3 separate regions of the Homo sapiens genome follow, and regions 2 and 3 are each linked to region 1. Evidence: promoter capture Hi-C in human tissues and cell types (Jung and others, 2019). All regions are on one chromosome and are shown on one strand. Each heading gives the region's core, a stretch centred on a gene start or on the middle of the fragment in contact. The rest is flanking DNA. Distances are from core to core; before and after follow the strand shown.

Region 1 (4,276 bases), core at 147-2,646:
ATCAGAAAACAGTCTTAATTATTCCATCAAAACAAAAAAAACACACACACACACAAAACCCAACAAATACAGAAAAAAAGAAAGAAAGGATTTCACTGTAACTTTTCTAGTTTCTGTTTTCTTTAGAATCTTAGGATTTAAATGCAGTAAAATGTAAATGCAAAATTAAAAAAAAAAAACTACAATTTTTGGGTGTGTCCAAAGCCAACATTTTAGGTTCTATTTTCTCTTTTAAATCCTTCGTTCGTGGAAATAGAAAAACTTTAAATATTGCCATATAGAGAAATTAGTCTTTTTTTGCCCGCTGAGCTAAACAAGTTCCAAATTACAATGAAGTACAATTTCTAATTGCTTCATAAAGCCAATTCTCTCAGTTTTCCCTAAACTCAACAATTTCCCTCCTTTCTTTATTCCAATTAGTTTTTTTCTCAAACTAAAATGAGTTGGGTACCCAAACTGACTTTGCTTTTAGGAGGTTTTTTGCTTTCTCCCCTCCAAGAACTAAATTCATTCAAATTCCAGCTTAATTTTCATTTACATATTATCTGGATTTGGCTTCAGAAATAAAAATTGTCTCCATGCTTCTGGAAAGATCAAAGTGAAAATTTTCACCCGAAAAAAGAAAAAAAAAGAATCTCTTACCCCTCCACTGCCTGGTAGTGCAAACTTTTGAAAAAATAAGAAATAAAAAATATTTCTTTTCAATTTTAATTTCTTTTTTATTTACAAAATAGTATCCTCTAGGTGGCGTCGTTTTAATGGGAAAAAACTACCGTTTGAAGAAAAATTAGAAAAAAAAAATTGAGAAAGGAAAATATGGCCTAAAAAAAAAGATTGTTGCAAAAATGGGGGACCTGGGGGGAAAGACCTCCCGGGGGGTCATCGGGGACCCCGAGCGCAGAGAGGGTCAGGGGAAAATTGCAAATTTGGGGGGGAGGGGGCAGAGCTGGAAGGGGTTGCATTTTTGCAAAATGTGAATTGTCCAAACTGAAATGGCTGCTCTGTTCTCTCGCCGCTTTGTTTTCTGGGCTCCGGTCCGAGCCCGGGGCCGGAGGGGGCGCTGGGTGGGGGCCCCAAAAGACCCCCTCGTCACCCCCACCCTCCTCGCACCCCGCAGCGCCCGGGGGGGTGCTCTCCGGACCCCGACCCTCCCGATTGCGCCCACAAAAAGCCCGCAAACGTGCCCAGGCACTTTGCATTTTGCAAATCTTGCAATGAAGTGGCGCAGCGCCCCGGGCCCCGGCCCCCCGGGGTCCCCCGCGCGGTGCATGCCCCCGGCCCCCCGTCGTACCTGCGGAGCCGCCGCGCCGCCCGGCTGGTTCATGGGTCCGTGCGGGAGGAGGCGGCCCCGGCGCGTCCTGCTCCTCCCGGGCCGGGCTGCTGGTGCGCGCACAATGCCGCCGCCGCCGCCGCCGCCGCCGCCGCCGCTCCCTCCTCCGCCCGCCCCGCTCAGGCCGGGGGGGCGGGGGCGCTGGGGGCGCGCGGGGGGGGCGCCGGCCCTCGCCCCCACCCCCGGCCCGCACCGGCCGCGCCGCGGCAGCCGCTGCCGCCGAGCCGCCCCTCGCGGGGCCGCCGCCGCCCCCCGCCGCCCTGCCCGCCCCCGGGCCGGCCTCGCCGTGCGGCCCGCGAGCTCGGGGCCTCGGCCTCGGCCTCCGCGCTGCCGGCCTCCGCGTGGCACACAAAGCCGGCCGGTCCAGGGGCGCGCCCGCCCTCCCGTCCGCCAGCCCCAGTGCCGCGGCACACCCGCCCCCCCAAACTTTCCCGCGCCGCGCCCTGCCCTCCCCGCGCCCCCCGCGCCCGCTCCCCGGCTCCCTTCTGCCCTCCCCCAGTCCCCCAGCCCCTCGGAAATGTCATTTTCACGCTGGAAAAAAAGTTCAGGGAGCCGGCTCTCGGCGGAACGCAAGAGGTTAATGGGAACTCTGTACCCCGCTGTACCCCCCCGCCAAAAAAAAACCAGATTGATTTTTGAAATAAAAGTTTTCAAGAGCTGGCTTGCTGGAAGACTGGAAGGCTTATTGGGAATATTCTATTGCCCTGCCACTCCTCCCAAAAAAACTAATGTAATAAAATAAAAGTTTGAAGGACTGGCCCCATGTCCGACAAGAGTGGTTAAGGGGACTCTAGCCCCCCAGCCAGACTGATTTTTAAAATAAATACTTGAGGAGCCGCTTTTATGTGAAATGCCAGTGAAGCGGCTGTTTCTGCCTATCCTTGCCAAATTAAAATATATATATGTATTTCTAAATAAAAGTTTGAAAAACTGGTCCTACAGTAAGACAAGAGGGGTTAAAGGTTAAGGGATATTAGCGCCCCCCACCCCCATATCCCCCAGTTAGGTTGATTTAGAGAAGGAAAATTTGAGAAACTTGCATGTGAAATAAAACGTGAACCAGGATATTTCTTTCCAACACCCCAAAATAGCCAGTTTTTTTGTTGTTGTTATTGTTGTTTTTTTTTTTTTAACTTGAGCAACTGCCTCCTTGTGACTTGGGAAAGTTTAAAAGGGATTTTTTTTTCTATTCTCTTCCCTATTCTCCTAAAAAATCCGATTTTTTAAAAATTGAAAGTATGAAGGACCTGCCCTATTATAGAGACAAGGAGGGATTACTGGATCCATCCTACATCTCCCACAACTGGTTGATTTTTGGAATAAAAATGTTAAGAATTGCTCTTCTATGAGATGCAAGGTGAACAGAAATCCTTCTTTGCCCCTCCCCAAAAGAAAACTGCAAGGGTACTTTTCAAAAATAAAAGCATTGGAAATTAAGAGTAACCAGGTATCTTCTCTCTGCCCCCACCTTCAAAAATCAAATGTTCTTTTTTGTAATGTTTAAAGAACTGGAGCAATATGAGACAGGAAAGGTTACAGAAATGTTTTCCCTACAATCCTCAAAAAAGTTATTTTTAAAATTTTAGGAAACGGAGGCACTGTGTAGAAGACACCTCCTTTCCCTAATAAGTTAAATTGGGAGTTTAGCCCTATATGGGAGACATGAAATTAAGAAACACAACTCTTGCCCCCCTTAACAAACACTCATAACACAAGACGTTAAAAGGAGTCTTCTGGCCGGGAGTGGTGGCTCACGCAAATAATCCTTTTGGGAGGCCAAGGCGGGTAGATCACGAGGTCAGGAATTGGAGACCAGCCTGGCCAACATAGTGAACCCCTTCTCCACTAAATATACAAAAATTAGCCAGGTGTGGTGGCACACACCAGCCAGTAGTCCCAGGTACTCAGGAGGCTGAGGCAGGAGAATTGCTTGAACCCGGGAGGCGGAGGTTGCAGTGAGCCGAGACCACGCCATTGCACTCCAGCCTGGGTGACAGAGTGGGACTCCGTCTCAAAAAAAAAAAAAAAAGAGGAGTCTTCTAACCACTTCCTCCCAGACCCCTAAAAGTTGGAGATTCCTTAAAAATTGAAATTGAAAGTGGCCATTTTTCTCCCCACCAACCTGGTAAGTATGTCCCTGCCAGAGGTTTGGCAGCCTCTGCCCAGGCTGGTGTGCAGCAGGCACCAAGGTGAGTAGGGGCAGCTTGCAGAGCATGGCAGAGTTGGGTCCTGTGAGCCCTGAGCATATGTGCTGGGCAGGCAGCCCCTAGTCCACCTGCCCCTCATCCACCAGGTGGTTGGGGCCTTGTTACCTGGAAAGATGCTCCCAGATTTGATGTCTGTCTGGCTCGATCCTTGTGTGAAGGTTTCTGGGCACCTGCCTCAAGGCCGGGTCCCCGCCTCTGCCTAGTAGAGCCAAGCCTGATCTTAGGCCTTAGAGTAGAAACTAGATCCAAAATGACATGGGGTCTCAGTCACCACAGCTGAAAGCTGTATGGTACCAAGGAAAAACTCCTGCCCTGGGAGTCGGGAAAACTTGATACGATAATTATTCATTTGAGCACTTACTATGTGCCAGGTGCCTTGTATCTAGTAGGACAGACACACACCATGAAGAGGAGAACTATTTGCAGCAGCTCTTCTCAAATGCAAGTGATCCTTGGAATCAGCAGGAGAGCCTATTCAGATTGCTGAGCCCACCCCAGAGTTTTGAATTCATTTGGTCTAGGTTAGGCACCAAGAGTTTGCATTTCTAATGCGTTTCCAGGTGATGCTGATGTTGCTGGTTTAAGGGCCACCTTCTTCAAACCTTTGCAGTACAGTGCCAACAGTGAGGTGCTCAGTGCAGCTCAAGGAAGGGTCCTACCCAGCCCGGGCGTGGGTCAGCGAAGATTCCAGGAGGGTCTTAATTAGATGGAAGTTTCTCTCTAGAGCAGGGATTCTTAA
Region 2 (3,981 bases), core at 1,010-3,509, 34 kb after region 1:
CCAGGGAAACTCATGTCAAGGCAAGAAAATGGAGAAATCTCTTTCCTCCTAGAGGCTAAATTTCTTTTTTAAAGGCCCAATTCTTCCTCAGAGGGAACATGTGCCTTGATGGAAGGCATTTGCCTGGAAAGAAGACTTGGGTCTTGATGGTCATGATGACAGGCTTACTTGGTGACCTTGAGCAAGTCACATCTCCTCTGGGCCTCAGTAGCCTCATCTGTCATATGGGAGTTCTCCAGTCTCACCATGACCCAAGTCTAAGGGCATGGCAAACAGTGATGAGGTCCAGGTGATGTAGTTTGGATGTCCCCTCCAAATATCTTGTTGAATTGTAATCCCCAGTATTGGAGATGGGGCCTGGTGGGAGGTGTTTGGGTAATGCAGGTGGATCCCTCATGGCTTGGTACTGTCCTCACAATAGTGAGTGTGTTCTTATGAGATTTGGTTATTTAAAAGTGTGCGGCACCTCTCTCCCACTCTCTCTCTCTCTCTTGCTCCCCTTCACCTTTCACCATGATTGTAAGCTTCTTGAGGCCTCACCAGAAGCCAAGCAGATGCCCCCACCATGCTTCCTTGAAGCTTGCAGAACCATAAGTCAATTAAACTTCATTTCTTTATAAATGACCCAGCCTCAGAAGTTTTTTTATGGCAACACAAGGACAGCCTAACACACAAGGCAAGGTCCTTCAGTCTCACCAGAGTTAACTCATCTAATACATATCATCATCACCAGAATAAGAACAGCAACAACTAAAGCTCCACTTATTGACCTGAGGCTATGCACTTTACATACATTATTTCATATAATAATCAAAAGTGTTTCATAAGGTGTGCACTTATTAGTCTCAAGTTTACAATCAAAGAAACAGGATCAGAGAGGTGAAGTCAGTTGCTGAAGATGACACAGCTTCTAAGTGACCGAGCCATCATTTGATCCCCAAATTCTGTGCTCTTGGAATACTCTGTCCAAATCCTGGGCTTGCCCTTCCTTGTGAGGGGACCATGCGGAAGGAGAGGGAGGAAGGAATCCAGCTCTTTCTCAGCTTAGGCCAATACCCTGCCACTCTGTACTTCTCACTAATCACTGACAGATGTTTGTCAGTTGCTGGTGGGTGCTGTTTAGGCAGAAAAGCAGGTATTTATTAGGCACAGATGTTCCTCAATGACCGCTTGTTTGAATGTGTGAATGGTATTGGGGAACAGCAGGCAAAATGAAATTTCATCTCAAATTTCCGAGGATTAGCAACAGGTTTACTGCATCTGGCCAAATGCTAGAGCCGCAGATACAAACCAGGTGGGTTCTTGAGCTAGTGGAAGCAAAGTCTGATGACAGACACAGGCCTGTCAGTAGATAATAATGTGGGGTGCTATGTCACTTGGCTGAACAAGGAGCTTGGTGAGGCAGAAGATGGGAGCTGTGAGCTGAGCACGGTCATATTTACCCTTCTTGGTAACACCATTGGACATAAAGGAGAATGGTGGTTGTTCATCCCAGAAATCAATAAAGCCAGAATTAGAAAGGTGACTGGGACATGTGGAGCCCACACTCAGCAGGGACCGGTGTCTGATTCCCTGGCAGAGAGGACCAGAGCCACAGGCCCATGAGATGGGGCAACTCAACCCACAGAACACTCCCTGACTGTCTGGGAGTCTAGGGCACCTCAGATAGCTTTCCTTCCAGCCCGAGGTGGATGCTCGTGGGGCACCTGAGATAGCTTTCCTTCCAGCCCATGGTGGATGCTCGTGGACTCCACCTCTCCAGACACCCAGGCGGGTTGGCAGTCTTCTCTCACTGTACATTTTTACCATTTATATGAGCCAACAACATCAGTCTCCAGGAGACTGAGCCAGTCCTTCTGAGCCCAATTCTCCTCTTCCCCTTTGTATGAAGCCAACAGAGCACACTCCTTTGAAATATTAAGGACCATACTTAATGGGTGGCAACCTAAGCAATATTTAAAATATATATATTATTGTAGAAGTCATTCGTGTCTAAGTGTTGAAAAAATACAGATCAGCAAAAAGAGCGAAAAGTAAAATCATCTTTAAGCTTACCATTAAAGCTGATGAGTGTTAGTATTTTAGTATAAAGCTTGACAAATACTTTCTACGCTTACATATAATACAGATGTATGAGTAATAAGCTTTTAAAAACAATGACATCAAAGTTTATGTGCTGCTTGAAATGATGCTTTTATGAATCAAATTGTATCATGAACTCTTCTCCAAGTAAAATATAACATTTTGTGACAGTATATTTCATATGATTATACCATAACTTTATTATATAGTATATATGCTATGTGATATATAAGAACATAGTATACCTCTTCTTATATGAATATACCAAACCCATGTTTTGTCCATTTATGTCATTTTTGATTTTTTATCGATAGGTAATATTGTAAAAAGTATCTTGAGCATTCATTGTTATAAACATTCCTGAATATTTTCTTAAATATGGAATTACTGCATTAAAGATTATGAATATTTTAAGAACTTGACTAAGTACTTCCAAGTTGTTACTCCACTCCCACCTCAAGCGACTGCTCTAATTGAAACCTTTCTTTCTCCATACTCTAGCCAATAGACGGCATGGTTTTTTCTACTTGTGACCAACATGATGAGTGAAAACTGATATCTTGCTTTTATGTTCATTCTCTAATTATAGCTGAGTTAAGCATCTTTTCTTATGCTTACTGGCTGCCTGTGTTTATTCATAAGTATGCTCCTGTCCACTTTTCTATTGGAATGTTCAAATTTTTCTCATAGATTAGTTTATTTTTTACTTTACTCATTATTTTTATACAACTATTTTATAATGGTTAAAAGAGCCCTTTCTATTTCGAGATTATGTAAATATTCCTCTATATTTTTGTCTAATTGCTCTAAATGTCTCACTGATGTTTATGTCTTTCATGTTACTGGGATTTACTTTGGTGTATGATGTGAGTTAGGCATCCAACTTTCTTTTTTTAAAAATGGCTAGCCAGTTGTACCATCATTTATTGAATAGTTGTTCTTTTTCCTTTGATTTTGAGATGCTGTCCTTATAATATACTGAATTGCTGTACGCCTTGAGTCTTTTGAGGACTTTCTATTCTGTTTTGTTAGTGTCTTCATTTATTCTTGTCTTAGAACTATATTATTTTCATATTGCAAACTTTTAGCACATATTAACATTTAGTAAAGCAGATCCAATACACCCCACCTTATTTTTTTCCAGCTTTTTTCTATTCTTGCATTTTTTAAATAAAATTTAATACCTATATAAATACCTTTAAAATAATTGTATCAAGTATAAAAATAGCAAGATTTTGATAGAGATAGTGTTAACATACAGATTAATTTGAGGAGAGTTCCAATATTGAATCCTTCCATTTAGGATAATAATGTATCTTCTTTTATGTTCCCCAGTTAAGTTCTGTTCTTCACAATGTTATGCATATTTTTATTAAGTTGAAATTATCCTTGCTATATAGAAAAGCTAGTTATAGATGTAGATCTACATATAGCTATTCATATACACATACATTGTTGATATTTTTGCACTACAAATTCTTACTAAATGCTTTGAATATTTTTTCCTTTGATCTTCTTGGCTTTCATAGGTCAATACATCAGCTACGAAGAATGACAATTGTAACTCTCCCTTTTAAATATATACCTCTCAGCAGGGCTGGCATTCTGAGCTATTTACCAGTATGTCTTACCAGTCTTTAAATTTTAAAATACTTTAGCATTAGTTGATAGTATACCAGTAACAGCTAGGTACAGCAAAATCTGTTAATAATATGATAGGGTTTGGATTTGTGTCCATACCCAAATCTCATGTCGAATTGTAATCCTCAATGTTGGAGGAGGGACTTGGTCGGAGGTGATTTGATCATGGGGGCAGATTTCCACCCTTGCTATTCTTGTAATAGAGAGTGAGTTCTCACGAGATCTGGTTGTTTAAAAGTGTGTAGCACCACCCCCTTC
Region 3 (4,276 bases), core at 191-2,690, 54 kb after region 1:
CTGTGTGGGGATCATGCCCCCTGAGCTGCTGGGCAGTCCTACCCGCATGGCTTCTGTTGGAGGCCATCTGCCCTGTTGATGATCTCTCAATTGCATTTGGAGTCCTTCTTCTTTTTGAAGGATATTCACATATATTCACAGCCTTCCTTCATTCCATTCCATTTTCTCCATTTCCTTTAGTTCCTGCTGGCAGTGTTTTTACTGGTACAGTCCCATTTCTATTTTTGGCATCTGTTGAGATGGCTGATAAGGTCTGTGGTCTGCATCCACACTAATCTCCTTATTAAATGATTGGCTGGCCCATTTATTGATGTTCTCTTCCAAACATGGTTTCTCATTTTTTGCAATATGGATAGACTGAGAATTTCCCAAATCTTAAGTTCTGGATCTTTTCTGCTTAACAATTCTATCTTCAACTTATTTCTCTCTTCTTGCATTTTACTGTTAGCAGTCAGGAGGCACCATACCACTCCAACACTTTGCTTAGAAATTTTCTTAGCTAAATATCTGGTGTCATCACTTACAATTTCTACCTTCCACAAAACACTAGATTTTAACAAGGATTACATTTTCTCCATTGTTCAATAACGTATTTCTTATTTCCACCTGAGACCTCATAGAATTTCCCTCAACAATCATATTTATACCAATTCTATATGTGATTATTCATGTATTCTCTATAAACCACAGAAGATTTATCTACAGCTCTTCTCTTTTCTTTTTGAGCCCTCAGCAGAATTGCCTTCAAAAGTCCCTTCATGGCAATGTCGGTTTTTTAAGGATGCACCTCAAAATGCTTCCAGCCTCTACCTGTTTCCCAGTTCCAAATCCTTTCACATTTTTCACATTTTTAGATATTTAGTACAGCAGCATCCCAGTTTTCAGTACCAATATTGGTGTTAGAGTTCTTCAGAGAAATAGATACAATAAAATATATAAAGAAATGTATTATAAGATATTGGTGTACATTATTATGCAGGCTGAGAATTCTTATAATCTGCTCTCTGTAAGTTGTAGACCCAGGAAAACCAATGGTGTAGTTGAAAGCCTGAAAACCAGAGAGTGAATGGTACAGATTCCAGCCTGGCCTGAGCTCTGAAAACCATGGTGCCAAGGTCAGGAGAAAATTGATATTCCAGCTCATTCCGTCAGCCAGAGAGTAAATTTAACCTTCTTCCATCTTTTTCTTCTATTTAGGCCCTCAACAGATTGGATTATGCCCACCCATACTGGATAGGGCCCTCTGCTTTACTCAGTTCACCAAGTCAAGTGCTAATCTTTTGCAAATACCCTCACAGACACACCCAGAAATAATGTTTAGTCAGCAACCTGGGTATCCCATAACCTACTCAAGTTGACACACAAAATCAACCATCACACTTTTATTGGTGTTTTCATGTTGCTACGTGATCTAGTACCCAGTGTGGGGTATATGAGGCAAAAAGAAAACCAAGAGAAATTGCTGCCATGTGGTTCTTTGAGTCTGAAGTCCCTTGTCAGTCTGGGACCTTTCAGAGTTCTTTTTATTTTAAAAACATACATTACATCCAGGGTGTCTAGTTGTACTTAATGGGAGCAATAGGGAAATCTACATCTACTCCATCTTCCCAGAGGTGGAATTCCATACTATTGACCTTTGTATATTGACTTTGTCTTCTGCAAATCTGTTACCCATTTATTAGATTTGAAGTGTTTTATTAGATTATTTGTTATGTACCTAATTAAGTCATTTGTGAACAAAGTCAGTTTTACTTCTTCCTTTACAATCTGTATATGTTTATGTATTTTCTTGCCTGATTGATCTGGCTAGAATCTCCAGTACAATGTTGATTAGCAGTGGTGAGAGATATTATTGGTCTTTGATATTAACAGAAAATATTAAAGAAAATATTCCTGTTTCATCATTAAGCATAATATTAACTGTACATTTTATATAGATCCCTTTCGTCAGCTTCTATTTAGGGTTTCTGAGAGCTTTATCATAGACGAATGTTGAATTTTGTCACAGGCTTTTCTGCATATATTGAGATTATCATATGATGTAATCATTTTCTTATCAGCTTAGCTAGAGATTTATAGAGCTTATTGATCTTCTAAAAGAACTTTTTATTTCATTGATTTTCTGTATCATTTTGCTTTTTCTAATTAAGTTCCATTGTGATCTTTATTATTTTCTTTCTACTGTGTACTTTGTTTCATTCTCTCTTCTTTCTAGTTTCTCAAGATGACAGGTTAGATAATGATTTGAGAACTTTCTTCTTTCCTAATAGGCGTTTAATGGTATAAATTTCTAAGTACAGCTTCAGCTGCATCCCACAAATTTTAATATGTCGTGTTTTTATTTTGACTCATTTCAAAATACTTTGTAATTTCCTCTTTTGTTTCTTTTGGGGTTATTTAGAAGTATATTATTTAGATTTCAAATATTTGGCAGTTTTCAAGATATATTTCTGTTATTGGTTCCTAATTTATTTACACTGTGGTCAAAGAGTATACTTTGTATGACTTGAATTCTTTTAAATTGAGATGTCTTTCATGGCCCATAATACGGTCTATTTTGGTAAATATTCTATGTACACTTAAAAAGAACGTATAGTCTGCTATTATTGGGTAGTATGTTTTCTAAGCGTCAAATAGGTCGTGTTGATTGAGAATGCTCTTTGACTCTTCTACATTCTGATTTTTTTGTCTACTTGTTCTGTCCATTGAGAAAGGAGTGTTGAAATCCTCAACTTTGGTTGTTGGTTTGTGTAACTATTGCAGTTGTATTAATTTTTGCTTCATAGGCTTTGAAGCTTTTTTAAAGGAACATAAGCCTTCAGGATTGTTGCATCCTGATGAATTGGCTCCTTTAGTGTTATGAAATGATCCTGTTTATCTCTGGTTATATTCTTTGCTCTCTGCAAAGAATTGAGAAATTTCCAAATCTTTATGGTCTGGGTATTTCTGCTTAACAATTCCATCGTCAATCTATTTCTCTCTTCTTGCATTTTACCATTAGCAGTCAGGAGGAACCACACCACCTCAACACTTTGCTTAGAAATTTTCTCAGTTACATATCCAATGTCATCACTCACAAGTTCCACTTTTCACAGAACATTAGGTTTTAACAAGGATTACCTTTTCTCCATTGTCCAATAACCTATCCCTCATTTCCATCTGAGACTTCATCAGTATCATCTAAAGTCTATTTTGTCTGACTTTAAACATACATTCTAGCTTTATTTTGATTAACATTAGCATGATTTATTGTTTTTGATACTTTAAAAGTATTTGTGTCTTTATATTTAGTGTGGGTGACTTTAAAAAGCATATAGTTGACTATTTTTAAAAAATACAATTTGATAATCTCTTACTTTTAATTGGGGAGTTTAGACAATTTACATTTAATGTTATTGATATGGTTAGGTTTGAATCTATTAGTTTTTTATATGTCTTCTTTTGGTTCTATCTGTTCTTTTTTTACCTTTTCTGTCTACTTCTACCTTCATTTGGATTAACTACGTTTTTAAACGATTCGATTTGATCTCTTTTATGGGATTATTAGTTATATATCTCCTACTTAAGTGATTACTTTAGGGCTTAGAGTATACATCTGTAATTTATCATAGTCTGCCATCAAGTGATAATTTAACACTTCACTACTCTATATACTGTATACTTCCATTTTTCCATCCCCAAACTTTGGGCTAATTTTTATCCTACATTTTATTTCTACATATGTTATAACCCCATTTCATTATTTTTCTTCAAATAGTCAATTATCTTTTGAAGACATTTAAATAGTAAGACATTTATTTATTTAGTTTATTTACCCAGATGGGTGCCTTTTCTGGGGATCTTTATTCCTTTTGTGGATTCACATTTTCATCTAACATCATTTTCTCTTTGTTTTTAAGACTTCCTTTAACATTTTTTGTGCCATGATCTGCAGGTGAACTTGTTCAGCTCTGTGTGTCGGAAGAAGTATTTTGCCTTTGTTTCTGAAAGATATTGGCATTGGATATAAAATTTATGGAGTCCTTTTCTTTCAGTACTTTAAAGATTTTGCTACAATTCTTCCAGCATGGATTGTTTCTAACAAGAATTCCTATGCCATCCTCACCTTTGTTTCTCTGTAAATAATATGTCTGTCTTTTCTAGATGCTTTAGAGAATTTCTCTGTATCACTATTTTTAACCAATTCTATGGTGATCTTGGTGTAGTTCTTTTTCTTATCTTTTGTTATTGTTTCTTGTGTTTGGAGTTTGTTAACTCTTTTAGAACTGTGGGTTTA

Evidence for each region. Contacts are between HindIII fragments. The study calls those that stand out against the background at their distance.
Region 2: a contact is called between a fragment that was not itself captured here and the fragment with the promoter of ZNF618 in region 1, in 5 of the 25 tissues and cell types used here (IMR-90 fibroblasts, heart right ventricle, mesenchymal stem cells and 2 more).
Region 3: a fragment that was not itself captured here is called in contact with the fragment with the promoter of ZNF618 in region 1 in 1 of the 25 tissues and cell types used here (hippocampus).

What each region holds. Positions count from the first base shown.
Region 1 is chr9:113,873,429-113,877,704 of GRCh38, reverse strand. ZNF618 (zinc finger protein 618) reads right to left here and starts at 1,396. Exons shown (of 15, transcript NM_001318042.2): 1 at 1,292-1,396. The coding sequence starts at 1,324. RefSeq lists enhancers at 2,972-3,472, 3,473-3,973. The HindIII fragment of the contact is 30,531 bases long and covers 1-4,276 here.
Region 2 is chr9:113,840,444-113,844,424 of GRCh38, reverse strand. No RefSeq gene overlaps it. Among named protein-coding and RNA genes, the nearest start is that of ZNF618, 34 kb to the left of the region's middle. The HindIII fragment of the contact is 3,413 bases long and covers 553-3,965 here.
Region 3 is chr9:113,819,557-113,823,832 of GRCh38, reverse strand. No RefSeq gene overlaps it. Among named protein-coding and RNA genes, the nearest start is that of ZNF618, 55 kb to the left of the region's middle. The HindIII fragment of the contact is 8,763 bases long and covers 1-4,276 here.